Regions from separate parts of the Homo sapiens genome. Here region 1 is linked to region 2. The links are contacts of gene promoters, found by promoter capture Hi-C in blood cells and fetal thymus (Javierre and others, 2016). All regions are on one chromosome and are shown on one strand. The core of a region is centred on a gene start or on the middle of the fragment in contact, and the rest is flanking DNA. Distances in the headings are between cores, read along the strand shown.

Evidence for each region. The method cuts DNA at HindIII sites, captures the fragments that hold promoters and counts their contacts. A CHiCAGO score of 5 or more calls a contact.
Region 1: a contact is called between the fragment with the promoter of CABP7 here and the fragment with the promoter of HORMAD2 in region 2, in 6 of 17 cell types (endothelial precursors, M0 macrophages, erythroblasts and 3 more). The highest score is 7.5, in endothelial precursors.

What each region holds. Positions count from the first base shown.
Region 1 is chr22:29,716,330-29,723,377 of GRCh38, forward strand. CABP7 (calcium binding protein 7) reads left to right here and starts at 3,674. Exons shown (of 5, transcript NM_182527.3): 1 at 3,674-4,204. The coding sequence starts at 4,096. It overlaps CABP7-DT (CABP7 divergent transcript), which reads right to left and starts at 3,574. Exons shown (of 3, transcript NR_186695.1): 1 at 3,219-3,574. RefSeq lists a silencer at 498-698 and an enhancer at 4,983-5,773. The HindIII fragment of the contact is 23,163 bases long and covers 480-7,048 here.
Region 2 is chr22:30,074,732-30,081,882 of GRCh38, forward strand. It overlaps HORMAD2 (HORMA domain containing 2), which reads left to right and starts at 5,733. Exons shown (of 11, transcript NM_152510.4): 1 at 5,733-5,760. It overlaps HORMAD2-AS1 (HORMAD2 and MTMR3 antisense RNA 1), which reads right to left and starts at 5,526. Exons shown (of 5, transcript NR_110541.2): 1 at 5,397-5,526. RefSeq lists silencers at 3,765-3,884, 5,334-5,383 and enhancers at 3,935-4,014, 5,189-5,886, 5,724-5,803. The HindIII fragment of the contact is 6,725 bases long and covers 3,005-7,151 here.

The sequences.
Region 1 (7,048 bases), core at 2,424-4,923, 360 kb before region 2:
CCTTCCCCCAATAGCAACAAATTCAAGGGCCTGTCCCCTTCACTCTGTTTCCCTCACATGGACTCTGTTCCCTGTTGTCCTTTCCGCTCCTGTCACCTTCAAGAGCTGGGCATGTGGGCGTTCAGAGGGGGGTAGCCAGAGAAGAGCAGGGATCTGAGCAGTTGGGGCCTCTGGGTTCTGGCCTGCACCCCCTCTCAGCCCGGTGTGCATCTTTGAGTCTATAAATTCCATTATTCATTAGTTGACTTCGGGAGTTTGCCCGGACAATGAATATTTTATTCACCTCCAGACACTGTCCCCAGTGCGTTCTTGGAACAATATTGTTCCTCAGCCTAGGAGCAGAGGCCATAGCCTCTGCCCTCCCTGGACATCCCCTCCCTACCACCACTACCTCCCCTCCTCCAGTACCTTCTCCCCCAGCAGGAGCCCTGGCTTGGGTAGGGCTGCAATTATTGGTCCCAGCATGATCTTGAACTTGAAGCTTACACCCTCTTCACTTTGATTTCCTCGTTTGGACAATGGGTTCATTGATAGCCTTGGCCGGCTCTTGTGGGTCCCTCCACAGCTTCACTCTACACAGCTGGGCCCTGAGCTCTGCTGGGAGCTCTCCCTGGTGCTGAATGTGGCAAGAGGATGCTGGCCTCGGACAAGAGGTCTCTGGCCAGGGAGGGCAGGGACTGTGCTGCTCTTGAAAGGAGTGGGCTCCAGTCTCAGGGAGGGAAGAGTCTGGCCTCTGAACATGGCAGTTCCCACCTCTCTCCCCTTGTCTCCTTCCCACTTGGGGAACCCCCCTGGAATCACAGGTTTCAGCGTGTCACCTCTCCCAGTGTCTCTAGCCTCCTGACCCAATGATTAGTTAGCAAGGCCTGTGGAGAACCCCTCTTGGGAGGACCTGAGGCTCAGGCATCTCCCGGTGGGCACCCCAGAGAGTGCAGTGTGATGGCAGCAGCACCTTCCCCAGATGGGGGAGCGACAGACATAATTCACACCCTGTGATCATGCCATCTGCTCCCCCGTGACGCACAGAGGAGAGGACGGGGCTGCAATGCCGAAGGGCGGGGGGCGGTGGTGAGCGGGCAGTCGTTCATTCACTAATTCTCTCGTTCATTCATTTGACAGATGTTCATCCAGCCCCAGCCACCTTAGCCCATTCCAGTCCTGTGCCAAGCGTAGGAGATCTGGAGAACCCAGACCCAGACCTGCCCTTCAGAGCTAAGAGAGGCCCTCTCACACTTCTGAGCTTTTGCCCACCCTCCTCTTGACCCCTGGAATTCCCTTGACTTGAAAAAAAAAAAGCCACCATGGGTTGGGAGTGGTGCCTCACGCCTGTAATCCCAGCACTTTAGTAGGCCAAGGCGGGTAGATCACTTGAGGTCAGGAGTTTGTGACCAGCCTGGCCAACATGTTCTCTACGAAAAATACAAAAATTAGCTGGGTGTGATGGCATGTGCCTGTAGTCCCAGCTATTCGGGAGGCTGAGGCATGAGAATAACTTGAACCTGGGAGGCGGAGGTTGCAGTGAGCCGAGATCATGCCACTGCAATCCAGCCTGGGCAACAGAGAAAGACTCCACCTAAAAAAATAAAAAAAAATACCCACCTGGACAGCAAGCCCAGGAGCTTCCCCTTCACAGGGCGAGTACCAACACGCTCTGCAGCGGCCTCCCAGGGAGTCACTGGGAGCTGGGTTTCCTGCCAGCCTCTCAGCAGGCTCTAGCCCACTCTCCCTTGGCCCAGGGGTTCTGATTTAGAACTGACAGGCCTGGGCTGGCACAGCCTGGACACTTAGTAAACGTGGAACGACTGAGCTGCTGCTGCGGCTCGCTCTCTCAATCAATACTCGAAGCTATAATTATTATTAATTCCTATTCCTTGGGGGGGATGTTCATGCTAATAGGAAACTCCCAAGAGTTTCAGGGAGGTGATGCCCGGCACCTTTCCTACATTATGTCACTTCATCCTCACCGCTGCCTGGGATGTGGCACTGCCACCTTAACAGGCAGGGAAACTGAGGCTATGGCCGGTTAAGGGACCTGACTGTAGTTCCATGGTGAGGAGATGGTGGATGCAGAAGCCCCAGTCTGCCTGGCTCTTGGTGCTGGGTTCTTACTTCCTCAAGTCTCTGCTCCATCAAAAACACTGGGGAAGCTCAAGGCATTCAGCTCTAGCGGTGGAAGGTCAGAAGATGGGACAGGTGGGCAAGGAGAGCTTTGGAGTGGGGTGGGAGCTTTTCTGGGGCCTCTCTCACCTCCAGGCCCAGGTCCCAGTGGGCAACCAGCTAGCCCGGAGAGGTCTGGGGAGACAGACAGACAGCTGGTGTCCTTCCTGGCTCCTCCGCAGGTTATAGATGTTTCTAGGAGCTCCCTCCAGAGCAGGGCCCAGGAAGTGCTGGGCCCAGGCTGACCCAACCCCGCTTGGCTGGGGCTAGCATCTCTCACTGAGCCCCTTCTCCCCAGACCCTGAGACAAGGCTGCGATTAATCAGTAACAAAAACAGAAACAAGCAGAAAAGTGTAATCAGCTTGGGAAGGGCAGGGCAGGACCGGGCAGGGCTGTGCAATCAGCGTTCCTGCTGGGACCTTTAGCTGATTGGGCCAAAGGGGGCAGGGAGGTGGTCCCAGTAGGGGGATTCAGGGAAGCACCCAGAGATGGGGCCACAGCCAGGCCAGAAGGTCACCCCCTCCCATGCACATCTGTGCACCATATGCCCACACCACTCCCAGCCCCAGGGCCTGCACACCTCCCCCGACCTGCCAGCGTACAACCTTGGCACACACAGGTGGCCACACACTCCCGACATTTGTCCATCTGCATATGGAGTCACAGACACCTGCGCACGTGCCCAGTGGCACATACACACCCTCATGGATAGCAGACATATGCACACGCAGGCTGCTCCCTCAAACACCTGCCCCCACCCCAGCTCTGGGGTGCCGACGTGCCCTGGGGCCTGGGGAAGCCCTGCACATACATTAGGTCTGAGCTGCAGCCATGTGAACTGGCAGGCCCTCACACCAGACCCCACAGGCACCGGGCCATGTCTCTGTCCCGAACTGCCCTGGGGGCCATGAGACACTTTGGCTCCTCTTCTGCAAGCTGAAAGGTAGGGGCTTGGGAAGGGTCCGGGACTGGGGCCCCATTGTGGGGAGCAAGGTCAGCGGCAGGGTGTCAGTCACAGGCAGGGCAGGAAGCCTACCCCAGACGTGTACCCAGCTCTTACCTGCTGCTCCTGCCCTGTGACCTTGGTCAACGTCCTTCTCTCTCAGCCTCAGTTTCCCCACCTTGGATCCTCCTGGCACGGAAACGGTGACTCTTCTTGAGGACCCAGGTGCTTGGGGCCAGTCTCACCTCTCTGGGTCTACAGTTCTTAGTTCCGGGCTCTCCGCTCCTGGTGCGTGGATGGGGGAAGGTGAGCCAAGGGGCAGGAAGGAGGACCCCCGCAACCCACCCCCTCCCTGGTCCTGGTGGCTGCAGACTTAGGGTGAGGAGAGCCAGTGAACAGAGGGGAGCCCTAGTGGGAAAGGGGAATCGGGGCCGAAGGGGAGAAGGAGCCCCGGGCAGGTTTGGGGCGGCCGCTCAGGGGCCGGCGGCGGGAAGGGGCGGGCTGGGGGTGGGGAGCGCGGAGGGGGCGGGCGGGCGGCTGGCGGGGGAGGCGGGGAGCGCAGCCAGCGCGGCACAGAACGAGCGAGCGAGCGAGCGGAGAGGCGGCTACAGCCTGAGCGCCGGGCCGGTAGCGGCCGCGCCGGCGAGCGGACTAGCGGGCGGCGAGCAGCGCGGAGCGCGCGGGGCACCGAGGAGCGGGCGCGGCGGGCACCGCGCGAGGCAGCCGGAGCTCTCGGAAAGGCCAGAGCGGCGCCGCCCCCGCTGCCCCTGCGGGGCCCCGGCTGGGAGCCCGACGAGGGAGCGGGCGGCATGGCCCGGCGGCCCGGGGCGCGGGGGCGCTAGGCCCCCGGAGGGGCGTCCCCAGCCTCGCCGCTGCCGCCGCCGCCCTCCGCAGCCGCGCGCCCCGCCCGCTCCAGCCGCCCCCGGGGCCGCCACCGGCCCATGAGCCCCGGCCTCAAAGTTTGCGGCGGGCGGGCGGGCGCGGAGCCTCCAAGATGCCGTTCCACCCGGTGACGGCGGCGTTGATGTACCGGGGCATCTACACCGTGCCCAACCTGCTGTCGGAGCAGCGCCCGGTGGACATCCCGGAGGACGAGCTGGAGGGTGAGTGTCCGCCGGGATCCCCGCCCCGGCGGCCCTCCTACCTGTGCGCCCAGGTGAAGCGCGGGCCAGGGGCGCGGGGGCGGGGGGCGGGGGGCGGTCCGCAGGTGCCGGTTGCCAGGTGGGCGCCCCAGCTAGCAGCTGTGCCCCGCGGCAAGACCTGTCCGCACCCCGGGGCGCCGCGGTGGGGGTCGCTCAGGCGGAGAGCGGCCCAGCCCCTGCCCGCGTGGTCCCCAGCGCTGCGGAAACTTGCCGGGCCCCGCAGCGGGGTCACGGGGCCGCGCAGTCGGCGGTGACGGTGCGGCAACGCGGCGGACTGGGGCGGGGGTCCGCGCTGAGCCCCCAGCGCCGGCCCGGCCGGAGCACCCGCATCCTGATCCCCTCCGCGGCGCCCGCCCGCGGCTCTCTGCTCGCATTGACATTCCGCTCGTGTCGCTTTAAAAATTCAATCTGCTCGGGCAGCAGCAGAAGGGGAGAGGGCGACTGCCCTGCTCTTGCCCGCTGCGGGGCCGCCCCCGTCCCCACCTGCGGCCGTAGCCCCTTCCCTGCAGCCCTGCGGGGACCCCCAGCCCGGCGCGCCGGGAAGGCGGCCCGGGAGGCGGTGGCGACAACAAGTGGCCGGACTGGGCGGCTAAGTCGCGATAGCCAAGCCTGGAAGGGAAAGGCAGAGAGGCCAGGACCCAAACCCGCCCCCACCCCGTTCCCCCTGCCTCTCAGACTCGCAGGGGGATGGCAGGCCGCTGGCTGGGCGAGGTCAGAGCAGAGGGCAGGGGCAGGGGTCCGGGACAGTGTGTCCTGAGGAGCAGTGAGACCCCTGGGGCCCGCCCAGCTCCTTCCCTGCTGGGCTGGGGGAGGTGCTGAGGTTTCCCCTCCCCCCAGACCTCCTGGAGCCCCCATATGGAGTGGAGTGGGGGATCTGGGCTGATGGGGGTCACGGCCTCCTGGGATCTGCATGTCTGCTGTTGCAAGGGGCTGAGCTCACCCAGAGGATGGGCCTCTCGGGGTACCTTGGATCCAGGGGTCTCTGAGATCTGGAGGCTCATTAGGGCCTGGGAGGGTGCAGCCAAGACCAGCACAGTCAGGGAGGATGGTGGGAGCCCAGGGGAAGCCATGGAGGGAGGTCCTCCCTCAACCCAGGCCCAGGGTGAGGGCAGATCTTAGAGGAGTCAGAATGGGTCGGGGGAAGATCCAGAGAGAGAAGGCAGCCTCTGCCTCGCTCACTGCACCATAGGCATGAGCCACCAGGCTCCTCACCAACTGCCCCTGCAAACCCTCAGAAGCGGGGAGAGCTGTGGAGACAGGGTCTGGGGTCTGATGCGGACAGGACAGATGGATGATTGGGGCCCCCCGACATGACCTCACCATTCACCCCTAAAACCCAGGGCCAGAGCCTCCTCCAGAGCCCGGGGAAAGGAGGGGTACGATGGTGGGGGGCGAAAGGTCAGGAGATGGAGCATAGGCCTTCTCCTCCCCACCTTTGTCCCCTCCGGCCCTGGGCCACCTCAAACCTCCTGCAGATTTTTCCCTCCAGAGGCCCTCATCCATCCCCTCCTCCTGACCATCCAAGCAGGAGTCACCATGTCTCCCAGACCCCAGGCAGCTTCCGCTTCACTCCCTCCCCTTGCTCCCAGCACCCCCACCAGGACCCCACCACCCCAACTCCAGCCCTTTCTGGGTCCCTCCTCTCCTGATCCCCAGTCCTGGAGTGCACTCCCTGAGGAAGGGGAGAGGCTGAGAGGCTGGCTGCAGGGGCGAGGGGCCGCAGGGTGGGCAGTGCAGGGGCAAGGCCGCAGGCTCCCCAACCAACGACATGGCGTGCTGGCAGGAGCCCAGCTGCGTTAGTCACCAGCCACAACAAGTGCCCTCCCCGCTTCTCTCCTGTCCCCTTCTCCTGGGCCCTGGGGAGCTGAGGGGCCCTGACTCAGGGGGCATCTGAAGGGCAGGGCCCTCCCTGGGATGGGCAGGTGGGGTCATGGAGTAGACAGATGCCTGGGTGGTCCCAGCTCATCTCTGGCCCAGTGGGCAGCTACAGATGAAGGCAAGAAGTTTTCCATGACCAGCCCCCTTCTTGGCTGCAGGTGCCCTAAAAGCCCTCTGGCGGCCCCAGGTCCCTTTCAGCAGTCCTTGAATGCCAGGGCTGGCCATTCCTGGCACGGATCCCCCTCTGCCCTCTCCGCCTCTGCAGGGCCTCATGAGTGCTCCTGCCCCAGGGCGGTCTGGGCGAGACCCAGGCCCTCTGCCGGGAGGACGCCATTCGCGGAGGAGCCACATGTGCCAGGAAGAGGGAGCTGGGCAGCCCGGGATGGAATGCTGCAGACAGTACGTGCCTGCCGCAGAAATCCAGGGGGCGGTCAGTCTGAGCGGAAAGGAGGACCAGGCAGGGAGGTGGGAAGCACAGAGTTAAGATGAGGGCTTCCCAGCCAGGCGGCGCTGGGTTTGAGTCTCTGCACCTTCAGCTCATGGAGTGACCTTGGGCAATCGCTCACCTCTCTGAGCCTTGGTTTCCCCACCTATAAAAGGGGGGCTGGTGATGGAGGATGCAGTGAAAGTACCTACCTAGCACAGGGGGCTCAGGGACCCAGATGCAACATGAGGGGAGGCCCTGCGGGGGTAAGAGGCTGGAGCGTGCAGGGCCCAGGCCCGTGAGGGTGTGCAGGAGGCTGAGCCAGAAGGGCAGGCTGGCAGGGAGAGCTGGGTGGAAAAGGCCTTGAAGGTCTGGAAAAGGTCTCTGGGGACCTGTGGCCCTGGGGAGGCATGGAGGGCAGTTGGCAGGGTAGGAATGTGGCTGCACAGAGCTGGCCTGAGGCCCACCCAGGCCCTGTGAGGGACAGGCACGGACTCTCTTAG
Region 2 (7,151 bases), core at 4,483-6,982:
TTACAAATTTAACTTATCACGAAGTTATATCAACTAAGGGAAGAAAAACAAGCCCCTCATGGGGCTGAGCCTGCAATATGGTCGTATAGGAATTCTAAACCATGTTTTAGGTAACCGTCATTTTCCAAGCGCCAAGAAGTGTAGAAAATAAAGGGCCTCAAATTATAGGCTGTCAATAGTGTGGAGCATTTTGTACATCACCTCATCTAGATCTCTGTGCAGATGTACCAAGTAGCAATCATGGAAAACTAGTTTAAAGTCGATTTCATTTGAAACTTCTATTAAGTGATAATCATTAAGGGGAATAACATCATTTTACACGTCAACGAAACTTCACATTCAGAAGACAGAATCAAGTAGCTAAATAGAACATTTCCATAATGCTTGAGAATTCAATATCTTTCTTGACATCATTTCTTAGTCTAGGCACTCAAGCAAGCAGCAGCTTTACACTTACAGCCCCTGTCATTTCCTGTTCTAGTTCATTAAACCCTAGGCTTTCCCCAAAAACTCACAACCCTCATGGAGATCCTTCTGCCAGTCAGAACAGATTCATTTGAAGGAGGCAGAAATTGATATGCAGCTCTGAGTGAGGATGACGGCCATAATAAATTGCCACCTACACATGGAATTATATTTTGTAGGATGACACTATGTGGGCAGAAGCAGCAGGAATTATGTTTAGACCTTATAGTTGGGGACTTATTTCATATTGACTGCTTTCTCCTTGGCTGCCAAAGGATGGATAAAGTTCAGAAGCTACAGCTCGGTTGGCAACTCTTTACCTTTGCCTTTCTTTCTACAAAATACCCCAAATAAGCTAGCAATATAGCCAGTTCACACGCAAAGGCTTGAATCAAAACTACAGTTCTCTAAATCATTTTGCTTCTCTTTTCTCGGTGATGCTTAAAATTCTAGGATTTCAGAGTCACGTTCATAAATACATTTATAAGCACCAGTGACCACTCCCTGCAATCAGATGGCTACTGCATGCTCCAATGGAAACCAGAATAAAAAGACATCCCGACATAGAAATGAGCGCTTAAAATAAGGCAGCTGAAAAGAAAAAGCCACATTTAACTTAACCTTACTGAGGAAGGGGACAAAGATGAGGGAGGACTCTCTCTACTCAGCTTTTCTCTTAATCGTAAGTGAGACACTTGGAATTGCAAAAGCAACATTTAGCTTTCAGAAGCATGTTGCTGCCAGGAGTGGAAAGAAAGGATCTTACACCTCCTTTTCTCTCCTCATTCTAAAGTGGTGGGCAAAATGTCTGCTTTTATTGGTTTGAGGTATTCTAACCATTGCCAAAGAACAAGTAAAGAAAATGATATACACATGCTCTCCTCCTAAAAATGTCACCTCTTTTGTAAAGCTGTCTTGATTCCCAATTCAGAATGTGTAGCTTCCTTCTCTACATTCTATCATATACTTTATACCTCCATTAGTATCACAGATCTCCCTCTCTCACTAAACTGTAGAATTCCATAGTTTGGGGACCAAGTCATTACCTCTGTGATCCCCGCAGTGCAAGGTAGAGTGCTTTATTAATGGTAGGTACAAAATAAATGCTTGATGAATGAATGTGGTGGTGTCAACTTCATAACTGGACATTATGCTTTTCAGAGTTCCAATAAATGTTGAAAACAAATAAAGAAACTACCCTTCCTACTTAGCTGCTCCCTCCATCCCAATCTCTTTTTCTCTATATTTGGTATCACGATTGTGTACACTGAAGAGGGAGACACATCTAATGGGAAATATCCTCCTGGGAAGATATTTTATATTCAATATTTCTATTTTGATAACCCTCCAATGAACCATTTTTTGGGGGAGGATTTCCAAGGTTAAACTGAACTTGATGAGCAGAGTTCCGATCATTTTAGGTAGGCAAAAGATAGCTCTGCTGGCCAGGCGCAGTGGCTCACGCCTGTAAACCCAGCACTTTGCGAGGCTGAGGTGGGCAGATCACTTGAGGTCAGGAGTTCGAGAGAAGCCTGGCCAACATGGTGAGACCCCGTCTCTACCAAAAATACAAAAATTAGCTGGGTGTGGTGGCGCATGCCTGTAATCCCAGCTACTCAGAAGGCTAAGGCAGGAGAATAGCTTGAACCCGGGAGGCGGAGGGTTGCAGTGAGCCGGGATTGCACCACTGCACTCCAGCCTGGGCGAGAGAGTGAGACTCCATCTCAAAAAAAAAAAAGATAGCTCTGCTTCTGGTGACACAGTGCACTGTCAGATGCCTCGGAATAAACTATAAAGGTCTAAAAACTGAAAGCATGACGCCAAGACTCCCCTAACCAGGTGCTGCCTATATGAAATGATCAAGAAGAACAAGAAAGAAACCCTGAATTCTTTTTAACTAACAACGAAAAATGGTCCTTAGCCCTCAAAAAACAAAGCTCAAACTAGAGACTGATTGGTGACTGACAACTGTTTCAGGTACAGAGTCAGGTGATGTAAATGTGTCTAAAGAGAGAAAGGTCAAATTTAGCCAATGAAAGTCATCTCAAATAAGATTCCCTCCTCTATTTTCACCTGTGTCATGTGTTATTTTACTACTGGGGTTTGGCAAAACTTCAGCTGGAGACTTTTTACCTTTGTCAAAATTCTGGTTATTTGGAAATTTCTAAACTGATCAAGTTCTGCCACAATGCACATTTTCTACTTGCAAAACAAACAAAATGCTTTGACAGGGACAATTCCCAGTCTCTTATCACTGAAAGGTACAAAGGAAGCTGGGAAGTTGTTTGAATATCATATAGCACTTTTGAGTTCATTAGGCCATTATCCCCAGGGCTGTATTTAATCAAGATGAAAAAGCACAGGCTCAAAGCCTTTTTAGTTGACAAGAAGCGAGTATTTGGCTTGGGACTTCTGTGTCTGAGTTGTAAGTCAGGTTCACAGAAAAGTAATCAGAAACTAGCCTGACTGGAGACAAGAAAGAGTCTCAAAATAAGAGGTATGAGACCATGGGTTGTACATGTGACCCGGCCTCTTAAGAAGCTTAGGGACCTTGAGCAAATTACTTATATTCTCATCTGTAAAGTAAAGGACTAGACTTGGAGTATTTCTAAAGCCCCCTGTAACACTGTCAATGTTTAATTATCTAATGTTGTTCCTTAAGTAACCGATTCATTCATTCAACTATTTGAATACCTTCAATGTTCACTGAGGAACAGTTAATTCAGGTATCTATTTGAATACCTTCAATGAACATAATAAAAGAAGTAAAAATAACAGCTCTTGACCTCAAGGAGTTAAGCCAGCGGTAAAGATGAAGGCTTTACCCAACAGCTCCTAGCACAGGGGCCAGGCACAGGGGCTTATTAATCCATTCCTTTGGTCACAAGGAGCCTGCCAAATGGTGAGGAAGGAAAGAAGTAAGAGAAACTCCACAGAAGCTCTTCGGAGGAAAACAGGGTAATTTATAATTTCAGTCCACCAATGTCTATTGAGTGCCTACTGTGTGTGCCAGCACTGGGCATCCTGGGGCGACTCCGCCAGATCAGGCCTCTGATGACACTTACTTACTTATTCCAGGTGATAGAGAGAAAAAAACAAAACAGGTTATCAAAGAAATGAAGTCCATGGCTGGGCTTGGGGGCTCAAGCCTGTAATCCTAGCACTTTGGGAGGCTGAGGTGGGTGGATTGCTTGAGGTCAGGAGTTCAAGACCAGCCTGGCCAACATGGTGAAACCCCATCTCTACTAAAAATACAAAAATCAGCCGGGCATGGTGATGCATGCCTGTAACCCCAGCTACTTAGGTGGCTGAGGCAGGAGAATCACTTGAGCCTGGGAGGTGGAGGTGGCAGCGAGCCAATATCACGCCACTGCACTCCAGCCTGGGTGACAGAGCAAGACTCTGTCTCACAAAAAAAAAAAAAAAAAAAAAAAAAAAAAATTAGATTGAGAGAAATTCTATGAAAGAAACAGAATAACGAATAACTGTGTTTGCTGGTGGGGTAGACTGCCAATAGTATAGGGCAGAGAGGGGTAAGTCTTTGGATATGGTAGCAGTTGACTGAGCTCAGATCTGAAGGCAGAAGAAAATTAGAACAGCCAGCACAGAGGGCCTAGTGATCCAGCCAGAGAGGCTGGTAAATGCGGAGGCTGAGAAGGGCTGGTGCAGACAAACCATCTGTGTGGTTGGAGCTTAAAAAGCAGTTACTTCCGGAAAGTATAGGGTGAACGCAGTAGTTCTCAACAGAGGGCAATTTTGCACACCCCATGGGACATTTGGCAAAGTCTAGAGAAATTTTTGGTTGTTATGATGGTGGGGGTGGGGAGAAGGTTGAGAAAACTTGCACTAAAAGAATATTTCAGCCCAAATTTCAGTTTTAGTCATTATGTTCTAAACTCATGTTCTCGCCAACTTGAATAGTTTTTTTTTTCTTTCCTGCAGAAACAAAATAAGAACAGGTTTCAAGTGGCTCACTCTTTCATCTACTCTCTTGGGAAATCCCCTTGGGGAGGTTCATGGGACTCCAGGAGCCTTTGGAAAGCACCACAGGATACGAAATATCTACCTAAACAGGTGAGAAACGATCCAAGGAGCCACACCCCCAACTGCTCCCACAGTTACCAGGGCAGAAAAAACTGAGATTAGGGGTAGGGCACAAAGGAGAATATATTTATGTTTTATTTGCATAATTACAAATTAATGTTAAAAAGAATGCAAAGTCAGGTCCAGGGTAGGGATGAAGAGGTTGCAGATGCCCTCAAGTATTGGAAAGCTCTGGCCTTCTGGCCTTATGTCTTTTTTCTTTCTTTTCTTTTTTTTTATTTTTGAGACAGGGTCTCCCTCTGTTGCCCAGGCTGGAGTGCAATGGTACGATCTTGGCTCACTGCAACCTCAAACTCCCCGGCTCAAGCGATCCTCCTACCTCAGCCTCCCGAGCAGCTGGGACTACAGGCGCACGTCAGGTGGCCCAGCTAATTTTTGTACTTTTTAAAATTTTTTTGAGACGGAGTCTCGCTCTGTCGCCCAGGCTGGAGTGCAATGGCGGAATCTCGGCTCACTGCAACCTCAGCCTCCTGGGCTCAAGCGATTCTCGTGCCTCAGCTTCCCAAGTAGCTGGGACTACAGGCGCGCGCCACCACGCCCAGCTAATTTTTGTATTTTTTGTAGAGACGGGTTTTCAACATGTTGGCCAGGCTGGTCTCGAATTCCTGACCTCAAGTGACGCGCCCGCCTCAGCCTCCCAGAGTGCTGGGATCCCAGGTGGAGCCACCGCGCCGCACTTCTCGGGCCTTCTTCTAACTCGGGTCCCTGGGCCCCCCAGGCTCTCGCTTCCCTCCCCTACGCCGCCCCGCGCCCGCCTCAGACCTCTCTGGGACCCGCCGGCCTGGCGTCCTGGCCCGCCCGAGCCCCACGGTCCCTCGGGTCCTAACCTCGGCGGGGCAGGCACCTCCTCAGGAAGCCCCGGAGCAGGCTGTCGTTGTATAGGTGGCCCAGGCTGGCGGCCCCTGACCGAAGGTCGCGTCGGGTCAGTGTGCAGCCCGTGGCTGAGAGGCGGCTGCTGAGGGGCCGGGCGGGCTAGGGGCCGGCTAGCCGCCGTTCGCCCCTGCTTTGCATATTCATGAAGTCTAGCGAGGCCGGTCGCCCAGGCTAGCCGTGGACGGGTCATGAATTATTCATGAGGAAACCTCTGGTCCCGCCCAGAAAGGCCTCGTTGACTATTCATGAGCCGAGGAGCGGGTTTGGGCCGGAAAAGGCCGTTGACCCCCGGTGGGAGGGAAGCGTCGACGAGCTGAGGTGAGGGCTGTTGAGACGCGAGGTCTCGGCCCAGAGAGGGCACTCGGGCGTTGTTAGTTCTGTCTTTATGTCAAAAAACAATTTTTTTTTCTTTTCTTATTACTTAAGGCTTTAAGTTGGATTTGAAAGTATCATATTTCGTGAGGGCCTAAAGTACTGTGAAGAGAATCGGGAGGGCAGGGGGCTGAGGAGGAAGGCAAAAGGGAGGCGATTTCCCCCAGAACTGGACAGAGAGCACCCAGGTAGTTTTGAAATTCAGATTTTTCTGGACATGAAATCAAACTTGCTGAGCAAGCAGCAGCCATAATGAGCCATGATGAGGCTGGCAGGGCAGACGATGTCTGTGCCCGACATTGGAGGGGGCCGTGTGTGGTGGAGCTTTGGGGAAGTTTATCTTACCTGGGTCAGATTCTCCCCAGCCATTGAGGTTTTCTGCCAGGATCGATGCCTGGTACAGGCCAAGAGGTGAGAGAGGTGGGGACAAGACACCCCGCCCCCCTTGACCTCAGCTCCCCTTTCACTTTAGTGAGGATTTGCCAATTAATCCCTATGGACTTTAGTTCCCTAAACAGAGGGAGAGAGTCTTGAACCTCAGGATTAGCCAATCGCCAAAATGTGTCCGAGTACGCAGGGCACTGGACAGGCTGTGCAGTACATCGTGTACTCAGCTGGTAGAAATGAGGGGTGGTTCTGGCCCCTAAAGGGGTTTTTAATCTCAGCAGGATCATAATCTAATTTCTCCTCCATTGGACCATCAATCTGTTGAGGTAGGAACAGTATTTTACATCTCGTAATCCTGCATGTTGTTGCCTGGCACATTGTAGTTGCCTCGTAGATGTTGAATGAATGAATAATTGAAATAGCATGAAAAAGATATTAAAAAGTCAAAAGAGCATGAACAAATACTCAATTAATATAGTGGAAGCCATTTTCTCTGAATGAGCACAGGTAGGGGAATTACCAGGGCCAAATGGAATTTGTTAAAATGGTGAATAATTTATTGAAGCAAGCTCTGTTGGAAGGTCTAAGTAATTGGGCGAACTTTGGCAAACCAAGTTCCCTTGCTTAGCCTCACTTTCCTTTTCTTTTTTCTTTTTTTTTTGTGAGATGGAGTCGAGCTCTGTGCCAGGCTGGAGTGCAGTGACGCAATCTCAGCTCACTGCAACCTCCACCTCTCGGGTTCAAGCGATTCCCCTGCCTCAGCCTCCCATGTAGCTGGGACTACAGGTGTGCACCACCACGCCCAGCTAAATTTTTTTATTTTTTTTTATTTTTAGTAGAGACAGGGTTTCACCATGTTGGCCAGGATAGTCTCGATCTCTTGACCTCGTGATCCTCCCACCTCGGCCTCCCAGAGTGCTGGGATTACAGGTGTGAGCCACTGCACCTGG